Linked DNA regions of Homo sapiens: regions 1 and 2 are each linked to region 3. Evidence: promoter capture Hi-C in human tissues and cell types (Jung and others, 2019). All regions are on one chromosome and are shown on one strand. Each heading gives the region's core, a stretch centred on a gene start or on the middle of the fragment in contact. The rest is flanking DNA. Distances are from core to core; before and after follow the strand shown. Region 1 overlaps EEF1AKMT1 (EEF1A lysine methyltransferase 1). Region 2 overlaps EEF1AKMT1 (EEF1A lysine methyltransferase 1). Region 3 holds the start of GJB2 (gap junction protein beta 2).

What was found. Contacts are between HindIII fragments. The study calls those that stand out against the background at their distance.
Region 1: a fragment that was not itself captured here is called in contact with the fragment with the promoter of GJB2 in region 3 in 1 of the 25 tissues and cell types used here (lymphoblastoid cells).
Region 2: a contact is called between a fragment that was not itself captured here and the fragment with the promoter of GJB2 in region 3, in 1 of the 25 tissues and cell types used here (heart left ventricle).

Annotation. Positions count from the first base shown.
Region 1 is chr13:20,760,446-20,765,249 of GRCh38, reverse strand. All of the region lies in intron 1 of EEF1AKMT1 (EEF1A lysine methyltransferase 1), which reads left to right. Among named protein-coding and RNA genes, the nearest start is that of EEF1AKMT1, 11 kb to the left of the region's middle. The HindIII fragment of the contact is 7,304 bases long and covers 1-4,804 here.
Region 2 is chr13:20,727,990-20,732,687 of GRCh38, reverse strand. It overlaps EEF1AKMT1 (EEF1A lysine methyltransferase 1), which reads left to right. Exons shown (of 5, transcript NM_001318939.2): 4 at 567-847; 5 at 3,472-3,957. The coding sequence ends at 3,608. Among named protein-coding and RNA genes, the nearest start is that of IL17D, 27 kb to the right of the region's middle. RefSeq lists enhancers at 2,045-2,571, 2,572-3,099. The HindIII fragment of the contact is 5,378 bases long and covers 1-4,522 here.
Region 3 is chr13:20,190,166-20,194,780 of GRCh38, reverse strand. GJB2 (gap junction protein beta 2) reads left to right here and starts at 1,843. Exons shown (of 2, transcript NM_004004.6): 1 at 1,843-1,998. The HindIII fragment of the contact is 6,658 bases long and covers 1-2,840 here.

The sequences.
Region 1 (4,804 bases), core at 1,803-4,302, 570 kb before region 3:
CTTGCACTGTTGCCTGGGCTGGAGTGCAGTGGCACGATCTCGCTCACTGTAACCTCTGCCTCCCGGGTTCAAGCGATTTTCCTGCCTCAGCCTCCCGAGTAGCTGGGATTACAGGTGCCCTCCACCATGCCCGGCTAGTTTTTTGTATTTTTAGTAGAGACGGGGTTTCGTTATGTTGACCAGGCTGGTCTCAAACTCCTGACCTCGTGATCCACCCGCCTCAGCCTCTCAAAGTGCTGGGATAACAGGCGTGAGCCACTGTGCCTGGCCAGGATTTTTTTTTTAGACGAAAACTATATGCTGCCCACAAGAAACTCACTTCAAAATTAGGGTGTGTGTGTGTGTGTGTGTGTGTGTGTGTGTGTGTGTTGAAAGTGAAAGGAAGGGGAAAATATATGCCATAGAAGCTTTTTTTTAAAAGCATGAGCACTTTTATTGATAGCAGGTAAAGTAGACTTATAAGAGTAAAGAAGTCACTAGGAACAACAACAGAATTACATAATGATAAAAAGAGTGAATTCATCAAGAACAAACAACAGTTCTAAGTATGTACGCACCAAACGAGAACAATTTAAATTACATGAAGCATGAAATAAAAACTGATAGAACTGAAAGGAAACAGACAAATCCACAATTACAGCTGGGTACTTCCATTCCCTCTCAGCAATCGATAGAACTACTAGATGGGAAACCAGCAAGGATACAGGGGACTTAATAACACCATTAACCAAAAGGATCTATTCACATTTATATAACCTTCACCCAACAACATCAAAATACACATTGTTTTCAAGTATTCATGGAATATTTCACCAACATAGACCATATCCATAGCTATTACACAAACTTCAGCATTTTTAAAAAGTGTTGAAATTATACATGCTAGAAAACCTAATAGGAAAATCTCCAAACACTTGGAAATTAAACAGTGTCCTTCTAAATATATGGGCCAGAGAGAAATTTAAAAGTACACTGAACTGAATGAAAATGGGTGAAAAAGGACAAAAATTTGCTGGGATGTTGCTAAAAGGGAATTTAAAGCACTGAACACTTAAATTAGAAGAAAGGTCTCAAAACAGTGTTCTAAACTCCCAGAACAAAAAGGTAGTTTAAAACAAATGCAAAGCAAGTAGAAGGAAGGAAATGAAAGGCAGAAATCAATGAAATTGAAAATAAAGTCAATGATGCAAAAACTTATTTTTTAAAAGAGATCAATAAAATTGATGAACCTTTAGTAAGAAAAAAGAGAAAACAGAAATTACTGACATTAGGAATGAAATGGGGGATATCAGTACAGATCCTAAAGACATTAGAAATAATTGAGGACTGCTATAAACATCTCTATCCAGATAAATTTTAACAACTTAGATGAAGCAGACCAATTCGTTGAAACTACAAACTACGAGAACTCACCCCATATGAAACTGATAATGTGAATAGCCGTGTAAGTATTAAATTGAATTTGCAGTTAAAGGCCTCTCATACAAGAAATTTTCAGGCCAGGCATGGTGGCTCATGCCTGTAATCTCAGCAGTTTGGGAGACCTAGGCGGGCAGATCACCAGAGGTCAGGAGTTTGAGACTGGCCTGGCCAACATGGTGAAACTCCATCTCTACTAAAAATGCAAAAATTAGCCAGGGTGGGTGGTAGGCACCTGTAATCCCAGCTATTTGGGAGGCTGAGGCTGGAAAATCGCTTGAACCCAGGAGGCGGAGGTTGCCGTGAGCTGAGATCGAGCCATTGCACTCCAGCCTGGGCGACAATAGCAAAATTCTGTTTCAAAAAAAAAAAACAAAAATTTCGGGCCTTAAATGCTAGGGATGCTATAACAAAATACCGTAGACTGGGTGGCTAAAAGTAATGGCAGAAACAGCAATTACCTTTGCACCAACCTAGCATCTCCAGATATAATTACAATGAGGGTTAAGGCTTTAACATATAAATGGGGTGCAGGGTGGGAGGGGGGTGGTGTGTCAATTGAATCCATAGCACATGATTTCACTGAAAAAAATTACCAAATGTTTATTGCGTTAGCACTGATTGTACACAGTCTTTTCCAGAAAATAGAAGAGGAGACATTTCTAGTTTATTTGATGAGACCAATATTACCTTGTTACCAAAACCAAAGACAATACAAAGACCGAAAACAATAGACAAATATACCTCATGAAGATAGGTGACGAAATCCTCAGCAAAATATTAGTAAATATGATTTAGCAATACATAAGAAGAATCAGTTAAGTGGAACCTATTCCAGGAATGTGAGACTGGTTTAATAGATAATCAGTTTAATTTATATCATGAGGTTAAAGAAAAATCACATGATCGTATAAGTTGATATCAAAAAGTTATTTGAAAATTCAACACCCATTCATGATGAAACTTGGCAAACTACTAATAAAGGGAATGTCCTCATCTTAACATAGAACATCTACACCCTGGGTGTAGTGACTCACACCTGTAATCCCAGCACTTTCGGAGGCTGAGGCAGGAGGAACACTTGAGCTCAGGAGTTTGAGACCAGCCTGGGCACCAGAGTGGGACCCCATCTCTACAAAAAATAAAAATGTTAGCCGGGCATGGTGGCGCATGCCTGTAGTCCCAGCTGCTTGGGAGGCTGAGGTGGAAAGATCACTTGAGCCCAGAAGGTTGTGGCTGCATCATATTTAATGGTGAAAGATTGAATGCTTTCCCACTTAAAATCTGGGACAAGTGTAGGATATCTGCTCTTATCACTCCTATTCAGCTCACTAGAAGTCCTGGCCAGGCACGATGGTTCATGCCTGTAATCCCAGCACTTTGGGAGGCCGAGGTGGGCGGATCACTTGAGGTTAGGAGTTCGAAACTAGCCTGGCCAACATGTGAAACCCCATCTCTACTAAAAATGCAAAAAAATTTAGCTGGGCGTGGTGGCAGGTGCCTGTAATCCCAGCTACTGGGGATGCTGCTGAAGCAGGGAGAATCGCTTGAACCCAGGAGGTGGAGGTTGCAGTGAGCCAAGAATGCACCACTGCACTCCAGCCTGGGCAACAGAGCAAGACTCTGCCTCAAATTAAAAAAAAAAAAAAAAAAAAGACTGATGAAATACATCAAAGATGAACTAAATAAATGGAGAGATGTGCCATGTTTTATGGATTGGAAGACCCCGAAAAATAAAGGTTCTCGTTCTGTTACCCAGGCTGAAATACAGTGGTATGATCTTGGCTCACTGCATCCTATGCCTCCAGACTCAAGTGATCCTCCCACCACAGCCTCCCATGTAGCTGGGTCTACAGGCACATGCCATCACACTCAGCTAATTTTTAAAAACATTTTTGTAGAGACAAGGTCTCACTGTATTGCCCAGGCTGCTCCTAGGCTCAAGTGATCCTCCTGTCTCAGCCTCCCACATTCCACCTGAATTATACACTTTAAATAGATGAATTGTATGGTATATGAATTAGATCTCAATACAAATGTTTTAAAATTTGCACATTTCACTTCAATAGGCATTTCAAAAACAACTACATGACTGCAAAGAGAATCCTGACTTCTCTGGCCACAGTAAACCTCATAGTACAGGGATTCAGTTCTTCATTTGATGAAACCCTCTTATAATGTATCATCATGAAATAAATTTTTTGATGTCCTCAAAATAAACACACTCTAACCATAAAATCCAACATCATACTCTTGAGCATTTATCCAGAGAAATGAAAATGAAAATTCCTATACATTTTACAGGAATGTTCACAACAGCTCTATTTGTAATACCTTAAAATTGGAAACAACCCAAATGTTTTAGTGGGTGAATGGTTAAGTGTGGCCATACTATGGATTACTACTCAGCAATAAAAAGGAATAAACTATTGATACACAGAACAACCTGGGTAAATTTTAAACCATGCTGAGTGAAAATGACAATCTCAAGTTATATAATGTATGATTCCATTTATCTAAAGTGACAAAATTATTGAAACGGAGAACAAATGCTTTCCAGGGGTTAAGAATGGAGATTGAGGTGGGAGAGGATGGGAATGACTTTAAAAAGGTAGTACAACTCATCTCTTTGGTGCTGGAATATTCTGTCTCTTATCCATGGAAGTGTTTTCATGAATCTACACGTGATATCATTATATAAAACTATACACATGTGCATACGCCTGCAAATAAATGTGTGTAAAACTGGTGAACTGCACGAGCTCTGTGGATTGTACTGTTCATTTCCTGGTTTGACAATGCACTGTAGTTATATAAGTTACTACCATTGTGGAAAAATAGGTGGAAGGATACATGGGATGGACCTTCATTATTTTTGCACATTCCTGTGAATCTGTGATTATTTCAGAGTAGAAAGCTTAGGAATGAGAATTGGTGTAGAAAAATAGAAATATTTATGTCCAAATTATCAGATTCTTTTCCAAAAGATTATGCCAATTTAAATTGTTATCTAAATTAGAGAGTATACCAATATCACTACCTTCTCATCAGCATTAAGTGTGTCCATTATTTTGATGTTTTATCTGTGTATTCTTTTTAATTTTTTAGAGTATGTATATTTTTAAATTTTAAAACATATTTTATTTTTAATTTTAGATTCAGGGCATACATGTGCAGGGTATATTGGGTGATACTGGAGTTTGGGTTTCTAGTGAACCCATCACCCAATATTGAACATAATATCTGATAGGGTAGTTTTTTTCAATCCTTCCCCCACTCTTCCCGGCTCCTCTCTTGGAGTCCCTAGTATCTATTATTTCTGTCTTTATGTCCACCTGTACCCATTGTTTAGCTCCCGTCTACAAGTGAGAGCATGTGGTATTTG
Region 2 (4,698 bases), core at 584-3,083, 540 kb before region 3:
TACATTTTTCACTATAAAAACTATAGCCTTTCATACCTCAAAATTATAAGCTATAGGCCAGGCGCGGTAGCTCATGCCTGTAATCCCAGCACTTTGGGAGGCCGAGGCAGGCTGATCACCTGAGGTCAGGAGTTCAAGACCAGCCTAGCCAACATGATGAAACCCCATTTCTACTAAAAATACAAAAAAATTAGCCAGGCGCAGTGGCGCGTGCCTGTAATCCCAGCTACTTGGGAGGAATAGCAGGAGAATAGCTTGAACCCAGGAGGCAGAGGTTGCAGTGAGCCGAGATCACGCCACTTCCCTCCAGCCTTGGCAACAGAGTGAGACTCCATCTCAAAAAAAAAGAAAAAAAATTATAAGTTACAGACTTTTAAGTACCAGATTCCTTAAAAGTGAGACACTATAAAGTTTTTTCTCAACATTAACTATTACACTAGTTTGCATTATTGTTTCCTGTAAGAAACTCTGAGCACTCGGACCCATGTATTGTTTAGTGAAGAAGTTGTTAACACCGTAATCTCTCTGTTAAGGATGTTTCATGGTGTGTTCATTTTGTCTCCTAGAATCGCATGTGTGAGTGCCCCTAGTGTTTACCAGAAACTCAGAGAGCTGTGCAGAGAAAACTTTTCGATATACATCTTTGAATATGACAAAAGATTTGCCATGTATGGAGAGGAGTTTATTTTCTATGATTACAATAATCCATTGGACTTACCCGAAAGAATTGCTGCACATAGTTTTGACATCGTAATAGCAGATCCTCCCTATCTTTCGGAGGAATGTCTCAGAAAAACATCGGAAACCGTCAAGTACCTGACGCGGGGCAAGATTCTGCTGTGCACAGGTAGGTGCTGCATTTCATATCTCATCAAAGTCACTGACAGTGGCTATTCAGGTCTTCAGGGTCAAGAAAAAATCCTGAGTCCACCACTTCCTGTGTGACTTGTGAACAAGTTATTTAACTCTTTGTGCCCTGGATTCCTTATCTGTAAACTAGGACTGATAATACTCTGCCATTAAGGGTCCTAAAGAATTAAGTGACACAAAGTACCCAACACTGGGTCTGGTGCATGGTGACTACTTGATGAATGTCAGCTGTTACTTTTACATACCATCATCAATACTATCGGTATCTTATCCAGCCTCTACCCTTTATCAAAGAGAAATTTGGAATCTATAGAGTTTAAGTGAATTGCCTGAGGTTACAGAGTAGACATTAGATTGGGTTAATGTAGAAGAGTTTTCTTACTGGCGAGATCGTTATACTTTTTTTCTCTCTGTAACCTCAAACCATTGGGCTAAGCCGTCCTCCCACCTCAGCCTCCCAAGTAGCTGGAACTTACAGGTGTGTGCCACCAAGCTGGGTTTGATACACTTAAGGCAGATATGGTAAAATTCAATAGAGTAAATCTGAGAACTTCAAGGTGGGAGGATTACTTGAGGCAAGGAGTTCTAGACCAGGCTGGGCAACACAGCAAGACTCCATCTCTACAAAAATTTTAAACATTAGCCAGGTGTGGTTGCATGGGCCTCCCCGCCATTTGGGAGATGGAGGTGGTGTGTCTGCAGTTTCTTCCTTCTGATCGGTTCTTGGTCTCACTGACTTGAAGAATGAAGCCACAGACCTCGTGGTGTTACAGCTCTTAAAGGCGGCACCTCCGGAATTGTTTTTTCTTCCTGGTGGGTTCGTGGTCTCGCTGACTTCAGGAAAGAAGCGGCAGACCCTTGCGGTATGTGTTACAGACCTTAAAGTTGGTGTGGACCCAAAGAGTGAGCAACAGCAAGCTTTATTATGAAGAGCAAAAAACAAACCTTCCACACCATGGAAGAGGACAACACCTGGTTGCACTGCTGGCTGCGGGGTGGCCAGCTTTTATTCCCTCGTTTGTCCCTGCCCACGTCCTGCTTATTGGTCCATTCTACAGAGTGCTGATTGGTCCATTTTTCAGAGAGTGCTGATTGGTCCATTTTACAGAGTGCTGATTGGTGTGTTTACAATCCTCTAGCTAGACAGAAAAGTTCTCCAAGTCCCCACTAGACCCAGGAAGTCCAGCTGGCTTCACCTCTCAGTGGGATGATTGCTTGATCTCTGAAGGTCGAGACTACAGTGAGCTCTGATGGTGCCACTGCACTTCAGCCTGGGCAGGGAGCAAGATTGTCTCAAAGAAAAAAAAATTCTGAGAACTGAAACCTTACCAACTGACCCGTCTCTTTATTTCTGGGTACCTGTGGTGTCCACACCCTTGAGTGCTGTTGTGGACGCTATACCCCAGTCCCTCCGGGCCGCGCTTGTCCCCTGGGCACCCTGCTGGGAACAGGGCTGGGCCAGGAGTGGAGCCACGGGAAGCTGTTCTGGTGTTGCAGAGCTGCGTGTGTGGGAAGGGGCGCTCTGTTCGCACAGATGCCGTGGTTGCCTGCACGCTTATTCACTCCGTTGCTTCCTTGAGCTCTCTGCAGTGCTCTGTGCACCAGCAGGCAGCGCTCTGGCCTCATGGAGTGTGCATTTTAGTTTCAGGGGATACTTTTAAAAAATAATAATAAAATAGACTAAAGGCTGGAAGCACTAACTCTGAGAAGAGTAACAGAGACCCAGGGATCTGCACTTTGCCCCAGGGACCTGAGGGGTCAGGAGCCACGGCCACAGCGGCCCGGGAGGGCAGAGTCGGGGCAGGAGGCCCCCAGTGCCTAACAGGGGACCGTGGGCATTGGGGTTTTCTTCAGAAGCCCAAGGCGACGGGACGCAACTTGTCTGAAGACGTAAGACGTTCGCTTTAACTTGACCGAGGTTTTGGGGCACGTGGACCTGGGCACCGCGGGCTGTTGCTGCACCCCAGGGAGGGCGGTGGCCTGCAAGGAGGGCAGGGCAGGGGCGTCAAAGAGATACTTTGAAGATGAAGTTGAGAGAGCTTGCTGTATTTGAGTGTGGAGGGGAAGAGAGGAGAGGAATCAGGGCTGTGGATGCCACCTCCTGTGGGGATGTCGCAGGGGAGCTGGCTGTGCGCTGTGGGCCCAGGGCGGGGAGAAATTGGGAGCAGATGGCAAAAGGGAGTGGCAATACATTCGCACCTGTGTTTGCAAGATTGGATATTACTGAAAAAGGCTCTTGGCTCAACGTTGGGAAATGTAGTTTTTAGTAATTATTTTTGCTTTCCATATGTGTGTATATATATATAGTACGTGTGTGTGTGTGTGTGTGTATAATCTGCTTCTAAATTTCTAAGTGTCTCGGCTTTGCAGAGGTAGGAAAATAATTCATTCAATAAAAAAGACATGGAAAAAAGTTGGTAAATTGCAAAAATATTGGAGAAGGTGAAAGGGAATGTAAAGAACACTCGCTCCCTCCCCCCACTTGTGAATTGTCAACTAATTGCCACCGGTGGTCCGCCTAGAGCCCCTCTCACAGCTCAGGACGCACTGAGCTCCGGCTGGGTTGTCACTCTCTGGATTCATTTGCTTTGTTCTCTTCAGGTGCCATCATGGAAGAACAGGCAGCAGAACTCCTTGGAGTGAAGATGTGCACGTTTGTTCCAAGACACACCCGGAACTTGGCAAATGAGTTTCGCTGTTATGTGAATTATGATTCTGGGCTGGACTGTGGGATCTGATTACAGACGGTGACATAACACAGGAAGGAACCCTGTCACATTCCTCTTTTTGTATTTTCGTAGTAGATTTAAAAGTTATAATCTCTTCCCCTCCCCCCAAACTGGAGCTGTCCCTGGCCTGGTTTTCAAAATAAAGTGTGCGATCTTCATTATTGTTTCCTTAGGGAGGGCGTCCCTAGAGCTCAGTCTTCTGCCAACCTGAATCCATGGAATTCGAGTTGGAAGAAACCTTAGAATCTGCCTGATCTTCTCTCCTCATTTAACATGTGTAAAAACAGAAGAACAGTTGTGTGGCTTGCCCAAGGGCTCCTGAATGAGACAGGACCTTGGCCTCTGCCTCGGGCCAGAGCAGTCTGGTAGCATCCTAGGGCTTGTGAGGAACCCCACCCCCATGTCCCACCCCAGCCCTCCAAGGAGACAGACTTGCCTCCATGCAAAAAGGCAATAATCCAGTAACTAGCGTCTGAATGCCTCTTAGAGCTCTCCTCCTCCTCCAGGTTCTAGGTGGGCTGCGAGGGATGACAGGTGCCCAGGTGCCCTCCCTGCGTGGCTCAGACTCAGCACCCTCCCTCTGAACTGCCTGAGAAAATGAAAGACCCATCTGTAAACCAAACACCAGGACCAAAAAATGGAGCTGGGACGAGTGTGCTAGATTCTCACCGTTCAGAAAATATTCCTCTGTACATACCCCAGAGGATGTCTCAACAATCAGAAGTGAACACACAGCATGGCTGGGTCTCGAGGGCATCACGCTGAGTGAAAAAGCCGCTCCGCAGAGGTCACACACTGGATGTTTCTAGGTATGACAGTCCCAGGGAGGAGAGATTCGTGGGTGCAGGGGGAGCATCAGGATGGGGCGAAGGGGATGGGCGGGCCACAAAGGGGAGTTCTCCTTGGTGGTAGCTTGTTCTTTATCTTGTCTGTGGTGGTGGCTTCATGAATCTGCATGTGGCAGCATTGCATAGAACCACACACACACAGAGATGAGCTCGCGTGAAACTGGTGAACTTGGAATGGGATCTGTGGGTTGAGCCAGTGTCCATTTTCTGATTGTGACACTGCACTATAATTATGTAAGATGTTACCATTA
Region 3 (4,615 bases), core at 594-3,093:
AGCGAGCTTCCCACAATGGTTCTAGAACCTTCCTTCATTCCAACCCAACCAGGATTCCAACAGACTCATAAACACCACAGCCTTTGAGAAATTAAAGGGAGAACCCACCAACCGGCGCCCCACTCCCCACCCCAAGTCACCTCTGGCTCAACCAAGATGCGCTCAGGCCAAGAAAGCTGCCCCACCCCACAGGCTTTGCCTGTCATTTTTAACAAGCCGACTCAGCACATCTCTCAGATGGGCCATGCAAGGCTTTTCGCAGCTCCTGGGGCTTTGCCTCTTCATGAGCAGACACTCCCTCTTAGACTAAGACCTGGAGCTGGAAAGTAGGTGGTAACCGCGGTACAAAACTCACGCTCGTCCCTGCAGAAACTGCCTAGGTCGGCCCATGGCCACGGGGCGCCAATTTTTCAAGGAAAAGTCAATGCTAATAATGGTGGCAATCACGGGAAATCCATTCTGAGGCCAGATCTGACTTGTCAGGATTAATCATCATTTCCACTTAACTTCGAACTGACCTGGGTAAAAACGTGAGCGCGAGGGGACCAGGCTGCACCTCTGACCTGGCTCCCCTCTGCAAAAATCGCGAAGTGGGTGCCCGAGGTGGGGCGGGGGTTGGGGGAGACCTCCCCGGGAGTCCCCACCCAGCCTGCTCTGCACATCTTAGTCCCTCATCCGCTTGCGCTGTGCAAATCTGTCTTCTGTCATTTGTATCGCAAGACATCAAAATCCCCAACCAAATGCAAATACTGAGACCTCATAATCTGAGACAAAGTTTCACGGTATCCAGAAAGCCCCCAGCAGGTGTGCAGTGCAGAGCCAGCCCCCCAGCGGTCTTCCGCAGAATCCTATCAGTTTCCCCCTTTCGTGCTGTGTGCATCGAGCAGGAAGGGGCTTGGCAGGTTTTACCTGCCCTCTTTCCTTTCTGAAAAGTCTGGGCCTCCTCACCCCGAAAGGAGTCACCTCCTTGCAGTTCCCCAGTTGCGAAAAGAGGAGGAAGTTGGCTGGGCCGGGGGCCGCGGGGGGCACCCTCCGCAGATGGCGGGACCCCCCTGCCGGCCATGGCAAAAACGAGGCTTGTCTCTCCCACCGCCCCCAACCTTAGTCCTTGGCACATTGTTGAAAGTAATTGAATAAAATCGGAAATTCGAGAAGGCGTTCGTTCGGATTGGTGAGATTTTGAGGGGAGAAAGAAGCGGGGACTTCGCCGGCACCAGCGGCGCCCCCTCCTCGGCCACCGTTAACCCCCATTCCAGAGGGCACTGCCCCGCCACCCAGCCTAGGTCCCCCTGCGAGAGCCTCGCGGGCCCGCGCAGCCTCCGCGACTCGAACAGATCTTCAGTCCTTGGAGGAATGCCTGTTTCTCTAACAATAAAAAATTAAAGAAGCGCTCATAAATGCCAAGTCCTCTCGCACTATGCGGAGTACAGAGGACAACGACCACAGCCATCCCTGAACCCCGCCCACGGCACAGCGCCGGAGCCGGGGTCTGGGGCGCCGCTTCCTGGGGGGTCCCGACTCTCAGCCGCCCCCGCTTCACCCGGGCCGCCAAGGGGCTGGGGGAGGCGGCGCTCGGGGTAACCGGGGGAGACTCAGGGCGCTGGGGGCACTTGGGGAACTCATGGGGGCTCAAAGGAACTAGGAGATCGGGACCTCGAAGGGGACTTGGGGGGTTCGGGGCTTTCGGGGGCGGTCGGGGGTTCGCGGACCCGGGAAGCTCTGAGGACCCAGAGGCCGGGCGCGCTCCGCCCGCGGCGCCGCCCCCTCCGTAACTTTCCCAGTCTCCGAGGGAAGAGGCGGGGTGTGGGGTGCGGTTAAAAGGCGCCACGGCGGGAGACAGGTGTTGCGGCCCCGCAGCGCCCGCGCGCTCCTCTCCCCGACTCGGAGCCCCTCGGCGGCGCCCGGCCCAGGACCCGCCTAGGAGCGCAGGAGCCCCAGCGCAGAGACCCCAACGCCGAGACCCCCGCCCCGGCCCCGCCGCGCTTCCTCCCGACGCAGGTGAGCCCGCCGGCCCCGGACTGCCCGGCCAGGAACCTGGCGCGGGGAGGGACCGCGAGACCCAGAGCGGTTGCCCGGCCGCGTGGGTCTCGGGGAACCGGGGGGCTGGACCAACACACGTCCTTGGGCCGGGGGGCGGGGGCCGCCTTCTGGAGCGGGCGTTTCTGCGGCCGAGCTCCGGAGCTGGAATGGGGCGGCCGGGGAAGTGGACGCGATGGCACCGCCCGGGGTGCGAGTGGGGCCGGGCGCGCGCGGGAGGGGAAAAAGGCGCGGGCGAGCCGCCAGCGCGAGGTTTGTGGTGTCGCCGATGTCCCTTCGGGGTACTCTAGCGCAGCCGCCTGGCTACTTGACCCACTGCCACCAAACGTTTTAAATTCACCGAAAGCTTAGCTTCGAAGCAAAGCTCCGTTTCGCCGGTGAAGCAGGAAGCCTTCGCTGCAGGAACTGACCTTTACCTCTTGGAGCGGCTTCTGCAGAAAAATCCCCGGGCAGAGATTTGGGCGGAGTTTGCCTAGAACTAACGCGGAGCCAGCCGATCCCGGCCTACCCCGGGGCCAAGATTTCAGTGGCTTCCCTTTTTCCTAAACACTTCACGAGGGTCTGTTTCCGGGCTGTGCTCCCCGCCTAGAAGGAAAATTTTTAGGACCCTTGTTCGCGAAGAGGTGGTGTGCGGCTGAGACCCGCGTCCTCAGGACGGTTCCATCAGTGCCTCGATCCTGCCCCACTGGAGGAGGAAGGCAGCCCGAACAGCGCTCACCTAACTAACAGCTGCTGAGAGCTGGGTTCCGTGGCCATGCACCTGGGACTGCCTTGAGAAGCGTGGTACGGCCGTGTCCCCATGTGACCTTAGAGTCCCTTTCGAAACTGCTGTGCACAGTCGGTCACAATTTCAGACACTGGTGAGAAGGGTGGAGGAACCCTCTGGGGACAGCCAGGCAAGGTCGACCACCCATCACCTAAGGGTGGAGAAATTTAAGGGGTGAAGAGTCCCTTTTGCCTTTTCTGGATCCTGGTGATTCACCTAGTGTCTTCCCTAAGGAACTGAACCAACTCCTCCGCTGGCCTCTGGCAGCCCTCCAGGCGGTGCAGGATGGCGTGGGCCCGGTAGGAAGCTGCATGTAACCGCCCAGGGTCGGGAGGCCAGGAGGGCAGCTCCTCCTCTGACTTGAATATTGAAAACAACTTCGTCCTGCTTCTGAGCCCCTCTTAACCCATGACCCCCTAGCCCATTGGGGAGTAAATCTTAATTTACTCCTCTTCCTGAAAAAGGATCTTTAAAACAGGTAGCTTCAACTCAAGCTTTATAAAATAACAATATAGGGTTTCTCGGAACTGTATTTTTCTCAGCTGATGGTAACTGGACAGGTCTGTAGAAGGGTGTATGACCTGGGTTTGGCAGGTGGAAGAGGGCAAAGGATAAACCCCTCCTCCTGCAGCCCCATATTCTTGGCCAGGTGTATTGTTGTAAACCAGGAGAGAGTTTACTTCGGGGAGTATCCTGTTTTCCACTCAGTGAGGGCCAATGAAGAATGTCTAATTCCATAAGATGCTTTTGTTAAAATCGGAATGTTGCTGTCCTCGGTGGTTCTGCTGTTGGGACGGGACTGGCCTGAGCTGTGGGTGCTGTAGCAGGACAACCAGCTCACCTAAGGGCCTCCCAGTCTGGATTATCAATGGGTCAGTGCTGAACCTGGGCTAAAATATTGTTTTTTCCAATGATGTTGTCTTTCCCAAGCTCAGTGAAGCTAAATGTTTCACAGGCCTATGTCAATCTGATGTAACTTTCGTGGCCACCTCTCTCCTGTTAGCCTCTGACCAAGGTGGCACTGGATGGTTTCTGCCTGACCTTGGTGCCCCGTGGCAGCGACTGTGGGTCATGAAAGACATTCACTACGAGCCTGCTTCTGGAGTCCATCAGAAAACGGGATGCAACTTGCCTAAAATGAGGAGAGGAGGATGCTTTTAAGAAAAAGAAGAAGGAGGATTCACTACCAGCTCTGAAGGGTGGAAAAGAGATGATTCATCCGGATTGTGGAGAGGGTGGAATCTTGTTTAGGAGAGCGTTGGTTGTGGCAGGCAGGGTGTAACTATGAATCAGTGAAGACAATTCACATCCTGGGATGAAAAGAAGGCCATGGGCTCACAGGAGATTATCCACTGGCCTCTCCACATCCGCTTGCAGTAAGGAGTGTGGGACTCTCCCAAGCTTCAGCGCTGAACTGCAATGCAGTGACGTCGCTTAGCTGGGCCAGTAACCGAGGGAGTTGAATTTTCTGTCATTTTAAAATAATGTGTCTTTTAAGAAACACTTTGAAATTAAAACCACAGCCCACAATTATAATGCACTGTTGCAGCACTTATCAAAACAGATATGCTAACTGAGCCATCAGTGCCAGCCTGACAGTGAGGCCACCAAGCCATCCACAAAGCCTACACGAAAGTCTGTGCTCACAGTGGCTTTTCTCCATGAAGAGGGCATTCCTAACCTCTTCCTTTCACGTAGGAGGAAGCAAGGTCCTTTGTAAAATTTTAACTCGGGGTGCCTCAAATGTAAACTTAACCACTGGTAACAACAGTTTCACTGCTACATGCCACGTCTGTGAAAATTCATTCAAGA